Linked DNA regions of Homo sapiens: all the other regions are linked to region 3. The links are contacts of gene promoters, found by promoter capture Hi-C in blood cells and fetal thymus (Javierre and others, 2016). All regions are on one chromosome and are shown on one strand. Each heading gives the region's core, a stretch centred on a gene start or on the middle of the fragment in contact. The rest is flanking DNA. Distances are from core to core; before and after follow the strand shown.

What was found. Contacts are between HindIII fragments. The CHiCAGO score rates a contact against its expected background, and 5 or more counts as called.
Region 1: the fragment with the promoter of LINC03047 here is called in contact with a fragment that was not itself captured in region 3 in 1 of 17 cell types (naive CD8 T cells); the score reaches 5.2 in naive CD8 T cells.
Region 2: a contact is called between the fragment with the promoter of ODF1 here and a fragment that was not itself captured in region 3, in 1 of 17 cell types (naive CD4 T cells). The highest score is 5.0, in naive CD4 T cells.

Annotation. Positions count from the first base shown.
Region 1 is chr8:102,526,995-102,531,330 of GRCh38, reverse strand. LINC03047 (long intergenic non-protein coding RNA 3047) reads right to left here and starts at 2,510. Exons shown (of 2, transcript XR_001745731.2): 1 at 2,476-2,510; 2 at 1,480-2,020. RefSeq lists enhancers at 1-20, 204-253, 2,164-2,213, 2,284-2,333, 2,514-2,733. The HindIII fragment of the contact is 12,429 bases long and covers 1-4,336 here.
Region 2 is chr8:102,548,926-102,553,222 of GRCh38, reverse strand. It overlaps ODF1 (outer dense fiber of sperm tails 1), which reads right to left and starts at 1,634. Exons shown (of 2, transcript NM_024410.4): 1 at 1,176-1,634. The coding sequence starts at 1,495. LOC124901998 (a long non-coding RNA gene) reads right to left here. Exons shown (of 3, transcript XR_007061039.1): 2 at 3,414-3,525; 3 at 2,627-2,716. It overlaps LOC105375684 (a long non-coding RNA gene), which reads left to right and starts at 2,595. Exons shown (of 2, transcript XR_928478.3): 1 at 2,595-2,680. The HindIII fragment of the contact is 343 bases long and covers 1,627-1,969 here.
Region 3 is chr8:101,322,741-101,327,168 of GRCh38, reverse strand. No RefSeq gene overlaps it. Among named protein-coding and RNA genes, the nearest start is that of LINC02844, 62 kb to the right of the region's middle. The HindIII fragment of the contact is 4,230 bases long and covers 1-3,789 here.

The sequences.
Region 1 (4,336 bases), core at 1,261-3,760, 1.2 Mb before region 3:
CTTTGTATTTTTAGTAAAGACGGGGTTTCTCCATTTTGGCCAGGCTGGTCTTGAACTCCTGATCTCAAGTGATCCGTCTGCCTCAGCCTCCCAAAGTGTTGGGATTACAGACGTGAGCTACCGCGCCCGGCCAGCCACTGCGTCCAGCCTAATTTTATTTTTAAAACCTACTTTTCCTCCATTTAATTCATCTTGAACATCATAAAGATGATTCCTGAAAAAAATACTCTAGCTTCACTTAGATGTGTTAAGTCAGGGCATGTCTGCTACGGCTCAGGCAAGCATTCTCCTTAAAAAAGCAGAGTTTATCATATTTGCAGCACCTAGAAGATGAATTTGCTTAAAAAAAAAATAGCAGAGTTACTCTTCTCTGCTTTGAAACCGTAATGGAAGACCACAAGGTCAGGAAATACGATGATTCATGTTGACACCTGTGTTTGTAAAGATTTTTTAGGGGGAAGACTCATATTCAGTTTTTTCAGGTTTAGCATAAATGGTTACTTGATAATGAAAGTTATAGCTCTGGTTAAGAAGATAAGAATTAGAGGTTAAAAAGAAACTATAAAATAGACTCTAAGTTCCATTTATAGAGTCTTACTAAATTGGCATCATTCTAAAACATATAAGCAAAGGTTAATAGTTTAACAGTGTAAAAATTTTAAACTCCTGTGTATCAAAACAACAGGAACCACATATAAAAAATAACAAACCAACTGAAATATTTGAGGAAACAAACCAATAGTTAATATACTTATAAAACACGCCACAAACTAAGCAGAATAAGTGAACTCCCTGATGGGCAAAAGCAATTCACAAAAGAAAATTAAACATATAAAAAGGACTTGACCTCATGAGTAATAAAAGAAGTGAAAAATGAAGCAATAACAAAATATTGGAGAGGAGGTAATATCCCTGAGGCACTGCATCATCCCTGGCTGGTTTCCGTAAACCCAGCTTACACCTTTGTACCTTTTTTATTAGATGTCCCTCAATTGCCCAGGTTTAGTGTGCCACCTGTTTTCTGTCGACCCTGACTGGTGCTGGCAAGATGTACGAAATCAGAATCTAAGTTCTATTTATAAGAAAGTTCATTAGCAGCATTACCTATAATAGCAAAAACTCAAAACAGAAACAAATAACCAAAATAAGAGACTGATTAAGCAAATTATGGTACCTGCATATAGAATATAAAAATATAGATGGGTGCAGTGGTGTGTGCCTGTAATCCTAACTACTTGGGAGGCTGAGGAAGGAGGATCACTTGAACCCAGGAGTTCAAGGCTAGTCTGAACAACATGGTAAGACCCCCGCCTCAAAAACAAACAGAAGAATATAAAAATATATTAACAATCATCTTCTTAAAGAATATTACTGAAAAGATAAAGCATACACAGTATATTCCTAAATTAAAAACACGCAAAATTGTGTATATAATAATGTCCCATTTTGTTAAAAAAATTTAAAGGGAAAAACATTAAATCATATAATGTTACATTTTAATAAAGAGTATATAAATATGTGCTTACATATCATATATAAAACAGTATATGTGTTATGTTTGTTTTATAGATGTTTTATAATATGCCATGTTACATTTACATAATATACAATGTATACTATATATATAGATTTATTGATTCATTATATTATGTCACTTTTTATAAAGAATTCTCTACGTCTCTACCGGTACATGTTTATGTCATGCATCTGTTATATAAACCACATAATATACATGTTACAAATCACATACATGTATATATATGCATGAATGTACAGCGCTCTCCCACGTGTCATCCGAGGTCACTCTGGGACTGAAATAAAACGGGTTGTATCCTCCAGTCCACGTTGGCGTAAAGTACAATGAACAGTGTCCTCCTCAAGTTTATCCAGATTCCCAGGAGCTCACTGCTGCCTCTGGACTGTGGGGTTCATTCTCAGACCAACCAGACTTCTTTTTTCCCTTCTCTGCTCCAGCTCAGAGGTGGGATTCAGCCATTTCTCTGGATTCCTCCAAAACCACCTTCGCAAGGAAAATGAGCATGTGGCAGATGTTTTCTTTCTTCTTTTTTTTTTCTTTTTAGAGATCGGATCTGGCTCTGTTGCCCAGGCTCGTCTTGAACTCCTGGGCTCAAGCAATCCTCCCACCTCGGCCTCCCAAAGTGCTGGGATTACAGGCATAGCCTGTACCACGCCCAGCCTAACATTCTCTCAATGTTCAGAGCAGCACAGCGTGGATGCCTCTTATGTAGAAAGCCCCCACTGCTTGCAGGGCTCTGGCTGCCGGGGTGGGGCGGGGCCTGGGGGCGACGGTATTTGCGCCCCTCCAGGCTGGCCCTCCCTCTAGGATTTCCTCGCTTCAGTGTGTCCCCCACCTTCCCATCTCGTGCTACACCTCCTGGCATTACAGACAAGACCCCTTGATGACTGTGACAGACATCCGGTCTGGGACAGAAGATAACAAAGAGAAAGCCTTACCAGTCCATCCTCCCACAGCCACCAGGAGGAGTGAGAACGATGCCAGCACAGCTCAGCACACAGCACAGCGCACAGCACAGAGCACGTAGAACACAGCGCACAACAAAGCACACAGCGCACGGAGCACAGCACAGAGCACACACGCGCAGCACACAGCGCACGGAGCACAGCACAGAGCACACAGCACAGCGCACACAGCACAGCGCACACAGCACAGAGCATGCAACACAGCACAGAGCGCACCGCGTGCACAGCACACAGCGAGCACGGACCACACAGCGCACGGAGCACACAGCGCACGGAGTGCACAGCACAGCGCAGGCTTCTGGAGCAGATTCTGGAGGAAGTCCTGGTTCCGCCACTTACCAGCTGTGCGGTTTGGGGCACAGTTCTTCCCCTGCCTTAGTTTATTTATCTACAGAATGGGGTGGGACTAATATTTAGTAGGGTTGCTGAGAATTAAATGAGTTAAATATAGAAGAATATCTTTGAACTTGGCAGGCAGTAGACAAAAGTTTCTTAGAGTTAATATGTATGAAGTGCTTAGTGTTTGGCACATAGTAAATAATATTCGATGTTATGTTTTTCTCCACAAATACGAATTATGTCCTCAGCCACCGTAACTGCCCAAGGGGTTCACCTTGCCTGCTGCCTAGACTGAGCCGATTCATCAAGACAGGGGAATTGCAATAGAGAAAGAGTAATTTACGCAGAGCCGGCTGTGCAGGAGACCGGAGTTTTTTTTATTACTCAAATCAGTCTCGCCAAGCATTCGGGGAGTCGAGTTTTTAAGGATAACTTGGTGAGTGGGGGGAAGCCAGTGAGCCAGGAGTGCTGATTGGTCAGGGATGAAATCATAGGAAGTCGAAACTGTTGTCTTGTGCTGAATCAGTTCCGGGGGGTCCAGGGGCACAAGATCCGATGAACCAGTTTATTGATCTGGGTGGTGCCAGCTGATCTATCAAGTGCAGGGTCTGCAAAATATCTCCAGCACTGATCTTAGGACCAGTTTAAGGAGGGTCAGAATCTTGTAGACTTCCAGCTGCATGACTCCTAAACCATAATTTTTAATCTTGTGGGTAATGTTAGTCCTACAAAGGCAATCTACTCCCCAGGCAAGAAGGCGGTCTGCTTTGGGAAAGGGCTGTTACCGTCTTTGTTTAAATTAGAAAAACTAAGTCTCTCCCAAAGTTAGTTCAGCCTATGCCCAGGAATGAACAAGGACAGCTTGGGGGTTAGAGGCAAGATGGAGTCAGTTAAGTTAGATCTCTTTCACTGTCTCAGTCATGATTTTACAAAGGCGGTTTCACCATCCCTCCCATAAACATGCAGGAGCAGCTAAAGGCAATTTGGTTTTGAATTACATGTTTATCCTTATATCTAAACTAGCAGAAGAATATATTTCAAAATGTAGGAGATGGGGCTGGGCGAGGTGGCTCTCACACCTGTAATCCCAGCACTTTGGGAGGCTGAGGGGGGTGGATCACTTGAGTCCAGGAGTTCAACACCAGCCTGGGCAACATGGTGAAACCCCGTCTCTACAAAAAATACAAAAAAAGTTAGCCGCGCATGGTGGTGTGCACCTGTAGTCCCAGCTACTCAGGAGGCTGAGATGGGAGGATCGTTTGAGCCTGGGAGGTCCAGTCTGCAGTGAGCTGTGATTGCACTGTTGCACTTCAGCCTGTGTGACAGAATGAGACCCTGTCTCAAAGAAAACAAAAGTAGGAGATGGGATTATGGTGCTTACTTTTTTCCTTTTCTTTACTTTGTGCCCTTTCAAATTTTCCAAAGTTTGTATATTGAGCATTTGTTATTTTTGCAACTATGGAAAATGCCAATTTTCTTTCCCCCCAAAAGACAA
Region 2 (4,297 bases), core at 385-2,884, 1.2 Mb before region 3:
TTTTTTTTTTTTTTTTGTATTTAGTAGAGATGGGGTTTCACCATGTTAGCCAGGCTGGTCTCGAACTCTTGAGCTCAGGTGATCTGCCCGCCTCCGCCTCCCAAAGTGCTGGGATTACTGGCATGAGCCAATGCACCCGGCCTCCTATTGCTTTTTCCAAAGAAACATCACTGTCACTGTTGTCAAGAGACTCTATCTATCTATCATCTATCTATCTATCTATCTATCTATCTATCTATCTATCTGTCATCTGTCTATCAGTTTTTCTGCACTTTGCTTGTTTGACTTAATACATCAATATGTAAGATGCTTCATCAATCCTTTCTATATTTACTTATTATTCCAGTGCATGAATGTATTATTTATTTAACCAGGGACAGCACTTTCAACCATCTTTTTCATCAACAGTAACAGACTAAATGGCATATGTAAAAAGTTAGAAAAGGAAAGTTTTCTCCAGGCAAAAAGAAAATATAATCTAAAACAAAAATTTTTTTAAAAAACTGACTCTTTTTAATTACCCAATTCAATTAAAAAGCCTTTCAAGTCTATCCTGAAAGCTACAACTCAGTGCCATAGTTTATTTGCAAGACCTTTGCTAGAGTTAGAGGGGAGGCCAACATGATAGACCTAATTCCAGATACAAGGTAAGTCTTTGCCTGGAGTGGGGGGATAGGAGAATGATATTCCCACAAAACCAAGGCAATGCCTCTACTGTTCAATTTGCTCTCCTGCTTGTAAAGCCTCTGGCACACATTAAGGATTTGATCTATTATTATTACTTCTCCTGTAGTCATTTCTGTAAGTCCAAATATACTCAAATCACTTTACTCATAACCAGGAAAAATGTTTAGTTTGCTGCTTCCAATGGCTTTTTAATGACACCCCCTGTTTCTTCCCTTCATTAAAGCCGCATTATTTATCATACTGGCATTCTTGCTATAAACCACCGACGACCTTGCCAATCGACATCATTACATTGTCTTTTGAGAACCCTACAATTCCCATCATGGACTCATTTACTCTTCTTTCCTTAAATCTTTCCTAAGTCACCAGGGTCATTATCCTGAACCCTTTTAATCTTTGTTCAACTATTGATTGTCACATATTTTTCCTTATTCCAACTTATAAGGCTAATATACCGACTATAAAAATTTAAAAATAAGTTATTTTACTTGGCAAGCTCTCGCTTCTCATCTTCTATGGCTCTGATGGCTTTCCTCTCCAAACTTCTGAGAGATGGTCGCAGACAGTAAAGCTTATAATCACACAGGCAACATGGGTAGAGATCACACAGGCCGCAAGAGCGTGATCGCTTGGAATAGCACAAGCAGTACGGATATGGGTGCAAGTCACAGCAGCAATAGGGGTGCATATACAAGTCGCACAGGCACCGTGTGCTAAATTCGTCGATGCATCTCAGTTGCCTTAGTTCTCTGTCCACCTTCTTTATGTCCCTTCTGACACTGTCCAAGAGACAACTCAGTGCAGCCATTATGGTCACACCTGATTGTTCTGTGAGTACCTTTGGGAAATGGCACTCCGGGAAAAAATTTGTTCTAAGCCCTTCTCAGAAGTTGCTTTTAAAAATAAATGAGGCACACATGATTCACTTACTTTAAAGCTTGTGTTCTATGACCTCACCACCTTCTGAAGTATGTCATAGTCTTCTGGTTACCATGTGAACTGTACACAGTCATGGTCTCCAGAGACCATCCTCAGAGTTACAGAGCTACTCTCAGAACCATACTCGTGTTGAGATTTCACTCACCTTCAAGGAGGATGGGTCTCCCAAGCGAGCATAGCTCATCGGGGTGCATGGGGCTGGCCACTAACATCCTTGCCTTGTGTGTGCTCTGGGGACCAGCCATGGCTATGACTGTGTGTTTGTTGAACTTGGTGCAGGCGAAGGCAGGAGCTGCCCACGCCTTTCTCCATGACCTTCTAGCTCTAGCCTTGATTGGAAGCTTGGCCTTGCTCCTTTTGTTCTAGAATTCATTCTGTCTCCAGACAGGTAGAATATAAAGAATGTTCTCATCATTCTCCTCCTACCAAGTCATCCTCAAGTCAGCCATTGTCCTTGACCTTCTGAGTTACAAGTCTCTGAGTCCTGCCCATTCTGCGCCAGCTGTGGTCATGGCTGTTCGGGAACCTCATTTCTCTACTGGTTGGGGGTCCTGTCCTTAAGCTCCCATCTGTCAGTCCTCGGGGGCCTGTCCTGGGGAACTACCTCCCATCAACTACACCTTTGGTCTTGCATCCAAGCCTCCGGATGTCTTGTCCCTGAGTGCTTCCCAAATGTTGGTCTTTGATGTTCTTGTAGCCAACCGCCTGAAGATGCTGGAAGCCAACTGCCTGAAACCCCCGCTTCGGCCAGTTTCCTTTACTTTCTGTTCAGTTAACATCCTAGACCTCTGATTCGGCCTCAGATTTGGCTCTCGGTGCCTCTACTCCTCTGGTCCTTTCACCTCAAACTGCGGTCCAGCTCTCGAGTCTCCCTTGTATGAACTAGAGCTCAGGTATTGATGACAAGTGGTTGGATGTGACACTGGTGAGGGAGACAAGGGCCAGGTTTGAAGGGACCTGTAGCCAGACTAAGGACTCTGAACTTTATTTTGAGCCCAACGAAGGATTGTTGATTTTCTTTTCTTTTGTCAGAAGTGAGACAGCCACACTGAAGGTAAGTTGCTAGGGACAATAGTAGTGGGGTTTTCTGCTGCAAGACAAGAAGAGACAACAAAAATCTGGACTGGGGATCATGGCTATGGGGATGGCAAGGAGGAAGCCAATGGGAAAGCCTTCCCCCACCTCTGCCCAGGCCCCATCTAATCCATTTTCCACATTGTAGCCACAGCGACTTTCATATAGAAATCTGTCATTCCTCAACCTTCCCCACCCATCATCCCACTCACCTTAAAAGTCTTCTCTGTCCTCTCAAAAAAAGGACCAAAATCTTTACCAGGTGCTGAGCAATGGGGCCTCTCCCACTTCCCCACTCTCCTCTCCCATCCTAGTATTATTGCAATTCATTACCCCTCAGCCACGATGGCCTTCCTGGAAGACCACTCACTTTCCAGAGGCCGTTCCTTAGTCCCTTGAAGGACATTCCTCATTCCTTCCACCTCATTCAGAGCTCATACACAGGACGTTCTGCCTGCTTAGAAATTGAACTCCCCACCTATGACTTTCATCCATTTAATTCTTAAGGCACCCTTTAGATCTCCCCCTTTCTTGGGGAAGCCTTCTCTGTCTCCCAGACTAAACACTCTCTTAACTTAGGATACATTTCCTTCATGATATTGTTTCCCCAGCTGGACTGTAAGCCACGAGGGCAAGGACCTTGTCTATTTTTGCTTCGCAGTAGATACCTAACACAATGCCTGGCACATAGCAGGTGCTTGAAATGTACTCACTGAATGACCATCTGGGTGAATTCAACAGGATTTAGTGAACAGAGTGAGGATGGAGTGAGGGAGGAATCAGTGGTGACTTCCAGCTTTCAAGCTTGGCAGACTCTTGGTGCCACTGAGATAAAAATAACACAGGGAGAAGAGTAAGTTTGGGGATTTGGTGAACAGGTGGTGCTGGTGACAACTTTAAGGTAGAAATCTGGAGTATTCTGTGGATAAGAGGGTCTGGAATTTGAGGAAAGCCTGGGCTAGAGATATAAATTAGGAAGCCACAATTCCATAGGTAGTTGGAACCCTGGAAACAGGCAAGATAATTCAGAATTTAAAAAGAGAGCTGAAGCCGACTCCCAGGGAAAAATAAGTAGAAATGAGGAGAGTGAAGGAGTCCATGAAAGGCTCATAGAAGGAGTAACAGAGGGCGACAGCCCCCTCAGCTGGAGTCCCTTGGGAGTCACTAGACCAAGCATGGCATTCCCAATGGCTCGATGTTCCCCAGCCTTGACTTAGGAGGCCCTTTTCTGTGCAGATAATGTGTCTTAGCAAACAAGTGTCCCTAGAGGCATTAGAATGAGAGGCTGGCCCCTTGAGTCACGTGGAATGAGTCAAAAAGCAAAGCTGAATGATTCTCCTCTATGGACAAATTCTGACCTCTTTAAAAGTGATTCCACTGTGATTTGATTCTGAGGGGTGGACCCTATTAATAGAAATATGGCCTACTCTTTCCTGAGAGTTAATTGCAGGAGTTGTACAGATTTCTCTAGCTCCAGGTGACAGAGAATTCTTATATCACCTTGAATTCTATCCCTTAGCAAATGTCAGCAAAGATTGAAGCAGGCAAGCTCTCAGTTTAATATTATTATATACACAAGTTCAGGTGCCTAAATACA
Region 3 (4,428 bases), core at 425-2,924:
CTCGTCCCTTGTGACACAATATCGCCACCTGCTGGCCAAAACATCACAGCGCAATTGTGTGCATCAATAGTTTGTTCAGAATGTGTATTAGCTGTCAACCTTGAAATACAGATTACAGCACTCTGTGTTCCAATCCACAACTTAGCACGCTAATTCTAAACTTCACGAAGCCAAGTATCAAGCCCCAATTACACTGCTTTTCTCCAGAAATATGCTTTCTTTTAAAATCAGAAATTACAATATTAAATCTTTTATGTTCTTAATTTACTTTAGCTTTTACATTTAATAAATATAAATTATGAAAAAAATATTATAATAGGTGTGTTGTCTGATAGTAGGCAGAAAGCACAGTGTGTGCCAAAGAGAGACCTGGTTGCATAATCCCGCTGTCCCACTTATTGGCTATGTAAATCTGGGCCTCAGTTTCTTTATTTGTAAAATGGAAATAAGAATACGTAACATAGAGTGCAGTCATGCAAAACAAATAACATAAATTTGGTACCTAGAACATGTGATTGAGGATATGCTGATTTAGTCTCCTTTTATTAAAGAAATGATCATATTGTTAACTAAATATGGACACACCCACCACCTTTCCTCTAAAACTACTACAAGAGAAATATGATTTGAAAGCATAAATCTCATACAAGACTCTAAAAGCAAAAGCAGAACTCAGATGGCAGAATAGTTTATTTTGTGTTTGTTTATTGACTTTATGGTTCATTACAATAACTTTCACTGAATAGCTTCAAAGGAAAAGAATTTAGTGCAATAAGGTTCTGCTATTACAAACATACATTTCATTTTTAAAGTGAATCAAAAACTTTTGTCTGAGGAAGTAGAGGACTAAAAGCTGAGTGAATAACCTCTATGAGCTGTCAAAGCAAGCAAGCCTCCAAGGGGGTTCTTGTGCGTGAGTTTTCAAAAGAAAAATACTGCATTCAGAGAGCAGAGGTAACTTTGCCTGGCTATCTTTATCTGATATTCTGACATGAAATGCCTCATTCTCAAAGTATTATAATTGTTTTATTTTAATTCCATGGCTCGATACAGTTCCTTTTAATGTTGTATTGGTGAATAAGGTGGATTCTAAAGTCAGGTTCAAACCTTGATCTTGAACAAACTACCTAAATTCCCTACACCTTGCTTGTAAGGTTACTGCTGAAGTTTGATGAAGCAATGCATGCAATGGCGTGTGGTTGGAACAATGCTGGGAATAAAGTAAGTGCTGTATTCATATCAGATAGCGTATATTTAAGAGCAAAGAATATTACCAGGGATTTTAAAAAGTCATTTCTGGCCAGGTCCAGTGGTTCACACCTGTATTTCCTAGCACTTTGGGAGGCAGAAAGGTCTCTTGAGGCCAGGAGTTCAAGACCAGCGTGGGCAACATAGAGAGACCCCTGTCTCTACAAAATACAAACAAAAATTTAAAAAAATAGCTGGGCATGGTGATGCAAACCTATAGTCCCAGCCACTCAGGAGGCTGAGACAGGAGGATCGCTTGAACCCAGGAGGTCAAGGCTGCAGTAAGCAATGATGGCATACCTGGATTCCAGCCTGCATGATAGAGTGAAACCCTGTCTCTAAAAAAAAAGAAAAAACAAGGTCATTTTTTAATGATAAAGTGGTGAATTCACCTAGAGGACATAACAATTCTAAATGTTTACACAGCTAATAACAACAGAGATTTTATTGATTGGTTTCTGGATGTATGCATATTTAAAATTTATCAACTCATATGCTTTAAATATGAGTAATTGTACATCAAGCATACCTCAGTAAAACTATTTTTAAAAAGTGACATAAGATAGATGCAGGGTGGTTGGCAATATGACTGTAGATATAGCCTGATTTGAGAGGCATCAGGACACTTTCACTTCCCTATCCCAAAAGACTACCATGTCGTTTTTATGAATGCCTGAAATTACCTCATCATAGTTTCATTCTTTGGGAATAAAATCATATTCCCTTTTCAAATGCAAAGAAGAGTAACTCTTAATGTGACATTGGTTGTTTTAGTACCTCAATCAAAGTGAACTTTTCAAATTATTTCCATTTTTCTAAGGGCCAACTTGGATAAGGATGAAGGGGAGGAGAGATCCTGATTATAGGTGTAGTACACACACCTGCTATTTCCACCCACCCGCTATCCATTCTACTTTCTTCTCATAATAAAACCCTAGTTTTCCTTTGAGGACACTGCATCTCCTCGACTCTCAGTCCATGTGACTTTGGTGGGGTTGACCCCACCCTTCCCCCCAGTCATAGACATTGAGCAAGAAATGGATCAAGCCAATTATCTTGATGAACAATCTTCACACCCAACGATCTTGGGCAGTATCCTTCACTGTTTCAGAGTTGATCTGTGTGGCCAACAGAATAATGCAGAAATGATAGCATGTACTCAAAGTCAATGGGATTCAATTCCAGGGATTTTCTTGGAGATATTGGGAAAAATAAGGCCCTTTATTTTAGACTTGAAATGTAGAAGCCTGGAGCTTTTGAGATCCATCTTCCTATATAGGGATAGTTTGTGAATGAAGGCAAACCAAGAGAGGGAAGAGAGCACATCAAACTAGATATTGTTACAGCATTTGGGCACTGTGGTAAGCAGTCTTCAATATGGCCCCAATCCTTGTCATCTGGTGTTTACAATCTTGGGTAGTATCCTCCTACACTGTTTCAGGGCAGGTCTGCGTGGCTAAAAGAACAATACAGAAATGATGGTATATGGCTTCCAAAGATAGACCATCAAAGACAATGTGGTGTCTGCCCTACTCTCTTGGATCACTTACTCTGGGGAAAGCCAGTCGCGTGTCAAGAGGAAACTAGAGTCCTCTGGAGGGGCCCAGTTAGGGAGGAACTGGGGCTGTTCACCAACAGCTAACACTAACCAACCATGTGACTGAGTCATCTTAGAAACAAATTTTTTGGCCCCAGTCAAGTCTTCGGATGATATAGCCATAGCCTATATCCTGACTGCAGCCTCATGAGAGAACCTACACAAGAACTGACCAGTTAAGCTGCTCCTAAGTTCCTCACCCACAGAAACCATGAAAAAAATGATTGTTGCTTTTTTCAGCCACTCAGTTTTGGGATACCTTGTCATGCAGCAATAGATAACGAATACAAGTATCACTGTCACTGCCATGCCTGGAATGTTCAAAGCCAGACCCTAGGCCAAGCATAGTATGATGAAAAAAATCACTGGTCTTCCTTCCCAAACTCTCCAAGCTCGTTCCTGCCTAAAGGTGTTTGTACTTGCTGTTTTCTCTGCCTGGAAAACATTTCCTCCAAAACTTTCCATGGCTGCCTGATCATTTAGGCCTCAGCCCTTGTGTCACATCCTCAGAGAGGCCTTCCCTCAATACTACATGGAAAAAAAGTGTCCCCTCTCCCAGTCACACTCTATCACATAGCCTTATTTGTCTCCCTAGAACTTGGCACATTATGCAATTATCTTGTTTATGGATTTGTTTACTTGTTATTATGTGCCCTCCTCCAGCAGACCATAAGTTTCACAAGAGTAGCAGCTGTGTCTGAATGGTTCACCACAGTATTCCCGATGCCTAGAACATGGTCAGTAACTGCTTTTTCAATGAAAAATATTTGAGTTCCACTCTTTGCTCATGGGTGACCTTGTCAAGTCATGCCCTCCCTGCCCAAGGTTGTTGTAAAGGTGAAATGGAATCACATATGTGAAATTACCTCATACACTTCCCGACACATGGGACATCTTCAAATGTCTTAGCCTACCTTCCCTAGAAAACAGGCTGAGACAAAGCTTAAGTGCAATGCTTTATTGCAAGAAAACCCTAGGGCTGGGAAAATGAGGGGAAAGGAAAGAAAGGCAGGGAAGAGTAAGAAGCCAATATAGAGTAGTGCTACTGAGAGGCCCACTGCTTCACAGATACAGCCAGCCACCTGGCCATGGGAGACATCTCCAGGTAAGCTGTAGAAGAACATTACCCTTCAGAACAGTCCCTCACTGAGAGGAATACAGAAGTATTTAGTCCATCCGTTTACACTGTAACATGCTTCGCCTTGGTCAAAGTGTGCCCCAAGAGGAGTTACCTCCCTTCTACTTTGGGGATTCAGAGTTACCTCCCTTCTACTTTGGGGATTCATCACGTAGTCACCAAGGAAGCCAGACTCCACCCCCTTTGGTGTGGCACTTCATCTGAGGCCAAAAGTGATGTATGGACCCAGAGACTCTGGGCTCTAGTCCCCAAGGGTCCCGAAGATAGATGAGGTTGAGAGAGTCTGAAGCAGTCCAGGTGTGTCTGATACATCAACAAATGCCAGTGAGTCCTGCATGTGGGCAAGAACTGAGACCAGGACCCAGTCCTGGGACTGAGGCACATAGGGGTCAGGGATGGAGGAGAGTTTGATCACAGGTTAAGAGGCTGCACATTAAAGCAAGGA